2 separate regions of the Homo sapiens genome follow, and region 1 is linked to region 2. Evidence: promoter capture Hi-C in human tissues and cell types (Jung and others, 2019). All regions are on one chromosome and are shown on one strand. Each heading gives the region's core, a stretch centred on a gene start or on the middle of the fragment in contact. The rest is flanking DNA. Distances are from core to core; before and after follow the strand shown.

What was found. The method cuts DNA at HindIII sites, captures the fragments that hold promoters and counts their contacts. A contact is called where the count stands out against the background at its distance.
Region 1: a fragment that was not itself captured here is called in contact with the fragment with the promoter of OR2AT4 in region 2 in 1 of the 25 tissues and cell types used here (pancreas).

Annotation. Positions count from the first base shown.
Region 1 is chr11:75,136,347-75,139,445 of GRCh38, reverse strand. The region is part of intron 1 of LOC107984358 (a long non-coding RNA gene); the gene reads left to right. Among named protein-coding and RNA genes, the nearest start is that of SLCO2B1, 13 kb to the left of the region's middle. The HindIII fragment of the contact is 3,555 bases long and covers 1-3,099 here.
Region 2 is chr11:75,095,528-75,098,881 of GRCh38, reverse strand. OR2AT4 (olfactory receptor family 2 subfamily AT member 4) reads left to right here and starts at 2,006. Exons shown (of 2, transcript NM_001405852.1): 1 at 2,006-2,054. RefSeq lists a cis regulatory region at 1,632-2,147. The HindIII fragment of the contact is 12,596 bases long and covers 1,214-3,354 here.

The sequences.
Region 1 (3,099 bases), core at 282-2,781, 41 kb before region 2:
CACTCTCTACTGGCTGCTTCCTACCCACGAATTGTGGGAAATATGCTAAAATATCTCCAATTTTTAAAGTACAACAAAATTCCCCCTGATTTCTTGCTATGGTCTGAATGTTTGTGACCTTCAAAATCCATATGTTAAATCTTGGCCAGGTGTGGTGGCTCACACCTGTAACCCCAGTGTTTTAGGAGGCCATGGTGCGAGAACTGCTTGAGGCCCAGAGTTCAAGACCAGCCTGTGCAGCATAGTGAGACTCTGTCTCTACAGAAATGGAAAACACTAGCCGGGCATAGTGGCATGTGCCTGTAATCCCAGCTATATGGGAGGCTGAGGCGGGAAGATCACTTAACCCCAGGAGTTTGAGGCAGTGAGCTATGATGGTGCTACTGCGCTCCAGCCAGTGCAACAGAGTGAGACCCTGTATCTAAAAAAAAAAAAAAAATGAATGCATGAGTGAATAAATAAATTAAAATTTAAAAGGTCAGGCATGGTCTCAGCTCCCAGCTACTTGGGAGGCTAAGGCAGGAGGATTGTTTGAGGCCAGGGGTTCAAGACAAGCCTGGGCCACATAGCAAGATACTGTCTCTACAAAAAAAATTTTCTTTTTTTTAATAAAGCAAACCTAACCTCTAGGGTGATGGTGTTTAATGGTGGGGCCTTTGGGAAGTGATTAGTTTGTAAGGGTAAAGCCCTCTTGAATGAGATTACATCCCTTATAAAAGAGGCCTGAGAGAGCTTGTTGGTCCCTTCCACCATGTGAGGACACAGCTAGAAAGTGCCATCTATGAAGCAGAGAGCAGCCCTCACCAGACACTGGATCCACTGGCACCTTGATCTTGGACTTCCCAGCCTCCAGAACTGTGAGCAATAAATTTCTGTTGTTTACAAATGACCCAGTTTAAGGTATTTTGTTATAAAACCCTGAACTGCCTAGGACACATCTCATCAGCCTCCAACCATCCACATCTCTTTTCAGCTAAACATCTTGAAGATGTTATCTATTCTCTCTCCATTTACTCACTCCCAACCTTCCACGCTCACTGTTCCACTGGCCTGTTCACACCTGGGGCACCAGTGATCCCCTCATCACTGGACCCCACAGACACTTTTCATCCGATTCTTGTCCTCTTGGGCACATCAGCAACATTTGATGCTGCTGACCACAGCTGCCCTAGGGAGCTTCTGTGATATAACACTCTCCTGGTTTTGCTTCACGCTCTCTGGCTGTTGTTTCTCAGTATCTTTTACAGAAATTTCTTGTTCTGCCTCAGTCTCATGTTGTTTCCCCCCATGGTTCTGTCCTTCTCACACTACACTCTCTCCCTAGGTGATCTTGTTCACTATCATAAGTATATGCCTCCCAAGTCTTTGCCTGCATCCACTCTCTCTCCTGAGCTCCAGACATCAGTCAACATCACCACCATCTGTCTCGTCACCCAAACCAGAATACTGGGCATCATCTTGGACCTTTCCATAATCAGTTGTCAAATTCTGACTATTCTACCTCTTGAAGATTCTCCAAATTTTTTTTTTCCTTACTCTGTTGCCTGGGCTGGAATGCAGTGGCTTGATCTTGGCTTACTGCAACCTCTGCCTCCCAGGTTCAAGAGATTCTCCTGCCTCAGCCTCCCAAGTAGCTGGGATTATAGGCATGTGCCACCACCCCTGGCTAATTTTTATGTTTTTAGTAGAGTTGGGGTTTCACCATGTTGGCCAGGCTGATCTCGAACTCCTGACCTCAAGTGATCCACCCGCCTCAGCCTCCCAAAGTGGGATTACAGACGTGAGGCACCACGCCCAGCCAGATTCTCTAAGCTTTGATAGTTAAGAGGCATGGCTTTGGAGATGGATTGGACTCTACACTAACTCACTATTTATCCAGCAGAATGACCAAAGCAGGCTTAGTTACTTAACCCTCTGAGCTCCCTCATCCATAAAACAAGGGTAATGGAAATTGCTCCTTGGATTAAATGAAATGAAGTATGTGACTACCAGGGCACAGCCATTAGTACAAGTAAGCTCTCAATAAAGGGCAGCCATCATCTGCTATCATTGTCATTAATACTCCTCTCTATTCCTCTCCTCACCACCAAGCTTCCTGGCTGGTTGCCCTGCCTCTGGTCTCTCTCTCCTACTCGAAGACATTCCCCGTGCCACAGTGGGTATGAGCTTTCTCAAACATGTAGCTGACTATCTTAGCCCTCTGTCTGAGCCCTGGTTCTGGCTTTCCAATGTCCTCATGCTGAGGGTTGTTCTTGGCTTCAAGACTCTCCTCCCTCTGGCCCCTGCCAACCTCTTTAGCCTCATCTTTGGAGACTCGCAGTCTCTCCTTCTATATTGCAGCCCAAACCAACTTCTATCTCCCCTCTAACACACCTCCTGCTTTTTCTACACTTCATGACTTTGTTTACCCCCTCCTTTGTGGCCTGCACTCTATTCATCTGCTTGAAATTTATGACCCATTTAAGAGATGTCTTCCATGATGCAAGTCGCTTTGTTTCCTCCTCTGGGCCCTTCAGCTCTATGGTAGCACAGATCACAGTGGATATGATGGACAGGGTTTTGGCTGGCTACCCCACTAGACTGTGTCAATTCCCTGTGACCATGCACCCAGTGCAAAGCCAGCCTTATTCAATGTGGAATGAAAAACGAACCTCAGTTATCTTAATCTTTAAAATGGCAGCATTGGCAGCCAGGCCTGGTCAATCCAGAGGAGAGAAAGAGCACTGGAGCCTGGAGGAAGATGAAGTCACAGAAGGCTCCCTGGAGGAGGTCGGGCTTAGAATTATAAGGCCTCTGTATTAGTCTGTTTTCACACTGCTGATACAGACATACTCAAGACTGGGCAATCTTCTGAGCCCTCCAAACTGTTCCAACCTGTGCCTGTTACCCAGTTCCAAAGTCGCTTCCACAGTTTTGGGTATCTTTTCAGCAATGCCGCACTCTATCGGTACCAATTTACTGTATTAGTCCTTTTTCATGATGCTGATAAAGACATACCTGAGACTGGGCAATTTATAAAAGGAAGAGGTTTATTGGACGTACAGTTCCACTTGGCTGGGGAAGTCACACAATCATGGCAGAAGGCAAGGAAGAGCAAGT
Region 2 (3,354 bases), core at 757-3,256:
TTACAATCCCTGAGCTAGACACAAAGATTCTCCAAGGCCCCACCAGAGCAGCTAGATACAGAGTGTCCATTGGTGCATTCGCAAACCCTGAGCTAGACACAGGGTGCTGATTGGTGTGTTTACAAACCTTGAGTTAGATACAGAGTGCCGATTGGTGTATTTACAATCCCTGAGCTAGACATAAAGGTTCTCCACGTCCCCACCAGACTCAGGAGCCCAGCTGGCTTCACCCAGTGGGTCCCGCACCGGGGCTGCAGGTGGAGCTGCCTGCCAGTCCCGGAGCCATGCGCCCACACTCCTCGGCCCTTGGGTGGTCGATGGGACTGGGTGCTGTGGAGCACGGGGCAGCACTCATCGGGGAGGCGGGGGCCGCACAGGAGCCCAGGGAGGGGGTGGGAGACTCAGGCATGGCGGGCTGCAGGTCCCGAGCCCTGCCCCGCGGGAAGGCAGCTAAGGCCCAGAGAGAAATCGAGCACAGCGCCAGTGGGCTGGCACTGCTGGGGGACCCAGTACACCCTCCACAGCCGCTGGCCCGGGTGCTAAGCCTCTTATTGCCTGGGGACAGCAGGGCCGGCCGGCTGCTCTGAGTGTGGGGTCCGCCAAGCCCACGCCCACCCAGAACTCCAGCTGGCCTGCAAGCGCAGGCGCAGCCCTGGTTCCCACTCGCGCCTCTCTCTCCACACCTCCCTGCAAGCTGAGGGAGCCGGCTCCGGCCTTGGCCAGCCCAGAAAGGGGCTCCCACAGTGCAGCGGTGGGCTGAAGGGCTCCTCAAGTGCCGCCAAAGTGGGAGCCCAGGCAGAGGAGGCACCGAGAGCGAGCGAGGGCTGTGAGGACTGCCAGCACGCTGTCACCTCTCACTGAGACTACAGGTGCATGCCACCATGCCCAGCTAATTTTTTTGTATTTTTCAGTAGAGATAGAGTTTTGCCAGTTGTCCAAGCTGCTCTCTTACTCCTGGACTCAAGAGATCCTCCCCCTTCGGCCCGGCAAAGTGCTGGGATTACAGGCGTGAGCCACCACACCCGGCCTAGAACTTTCACTTTTGACTCAGTAAAGCTCTGTATTGATTAAAATGTTCTACAATGAGGTTCTGTTTATTACTTGTGAAATTAAAAAAAAATTAAAATTTTATGAGTATTAGTAGGAGTGACCAAGTCAGTCAAGTCAGAAACAGAACACTGGAGCCAAAGGAGAGAATCAGAAAGATTGAGGCAGGAAGAGTCTGTGACTCTTGACTTTGTCCTGTATGGGGTTGGGGCAGAGACTTCCACCCTCACATTCTTTCCACAAAACCTTTGCAAGTTCTCATTGCACAGCAGCGGAAGTATCACATACTCATTGAACAAGGCTTTACTGCTTTGGTCCATTAAAATAATAGCTCCCACTTATTGAATGCCTAATAAGTGGCAGGAACTGGGTGAAGCACCTCAACCTGCCCAGTTATCCTGTGAGAGAGTTAGTGTCGTTATACCCATTCCACAGATGACAAAATGAAGACCCAGTGAGGTTAAGGGATTTGTTCAAAGTCATATTACTGGGAATAACTCGGGTCTTAGTCATTAGATAACATGTTGCTGAACCACTGAACCAGAATTGGAGCCTTGGGTACAAATCCCAGCTCTGCCACCAGCCACTCATATGACCTTGGGCAAGTCACCTCACTTCTCTAGATCTCAGTTTCCTCAAATGTAAAATAGTGGAAATAATCCTGACTCTGCCTGTCTTCCCTGGCTATTGTGAGGACCAGATGGGAAAACAGGAATAATACTGGTGATAAAGTTCTGGGACCCATGAGGGTTGTTAATGATGTTGTTTTCATTATCAGCAAAGCCCAGAACAAAGTCCCCCACTCCACCCTCGGAAGTTGTTCTCAGCTGACTGGCAGTTATCTGGTCCCACGGGTGAGCCTTCTTGTGGGGAGAGAGCCCCAGCAGGCCTGGTTGCAGAGAGGGGCCCGAGGGTTTAAAGGGCCATGGTTGAGTTTCTACCTGGCTCTTCCCAACCAAGGCCAACTGTGACGACTCTACACAAGACATCAAGGCGGACCAGGATTGGTAGGTGAGCTGGGCTGGGGATGGAGTGCGCAGAGCAGGCAGAGACTGGGATGGGGAGATAGGCTCAGGGAGGTTGGGGGCATGTACAACCACAGTAAAGATCCTGGGAATGTCAGGGTCCCAGGATCCAAGTCAACCACGCAGTCAGCCTGGGTGAGTGTAGACCAGACACCCTCGCAGGCAGGGGCAGGGCTGTGCAGTCACAAGCAAGAGGCTAATGATCTTGGAAGAGAATTCCTCACAAGGAGGCAAAGCTGATGACGATAAGAGAAATGGGAATAATTTGTGAGGGAATTGCAGTCCATTGGAGGAAAGCACAAAGTGGTGGAGCCAGGAAGGAAACTCAGGCCTTTCTAACTGCAAAGTTAATAGACCTAGATTCTGTGCTTCACGTATATCCTGCTCCTTTTCTATGGAAACAGTGCAGGATGGTGAGAATATCATGAGAGAACTGCATGAGTTTGGGCGTCGTAATGATGTGTAATGACTGTAAAGAATCAAGCAGGCAACAGAAGCTTAACAAATGAGAGCGCCCTTGCTCTCCTTCCTAAGAGGCTGAGGCCATGACACATCTGTCTTCGAATCTCTCATTTATCTAAACACAGAGTAGATACTCAAAATATTTATCAAGCTGGAGATCATTGCTTCCAAAGTCCTCATTTTATAGATGGGAAAACTGAGGCTCAGAGACCCAGCATCACAGCAAGAGAGTGGCAGAGCTGGTCCAGGAGAGCTCAAGGTGAGTTGATAATCTAGCTCTGTTGACAGTCTAGTTCTAGTTCTATCACCCACTTACTGTGTGACCTTGGGAAAGTCACAGCCCATTTCTGGGACTCCCTTTTCTGTCCCCATCTATATAATAAAGAGGTTAGGTGAAATGCCAGCACTTTGGGAGGCCGAGGCGGGCAGATCACTTGAGATCAGGACTTCAAGACCAGCCTGGCCAACATGGTGAAACACCATCTCTACTAAAAATACAAAAATTAGCCGGACATGGTGGCAAGCGCCTGTAATCCCAGCTACTCGGGAGGTTGAGGCATGAGAATCGCTTGAACCCGGGAGGCAGAGGTTGCAGTGAGCCGAGATCGTGCCACTGCACTCCAGCCTGGGTGATAGAGCAAGACTCAATCTCAAAAAAAAAAAAAAAAAAGAGGTTAGGTGAAAACTATTTAATCACTAATGGCCCCTTCATTCCTATTTGATGATTTATCAGCAAAACAAGGCAAGTTGGAAAGCTGCATTCCAGAGCACTAAGCTCCTGGGAAGGATGGTGCAGTATCAAATAGAAACGATCAGACCC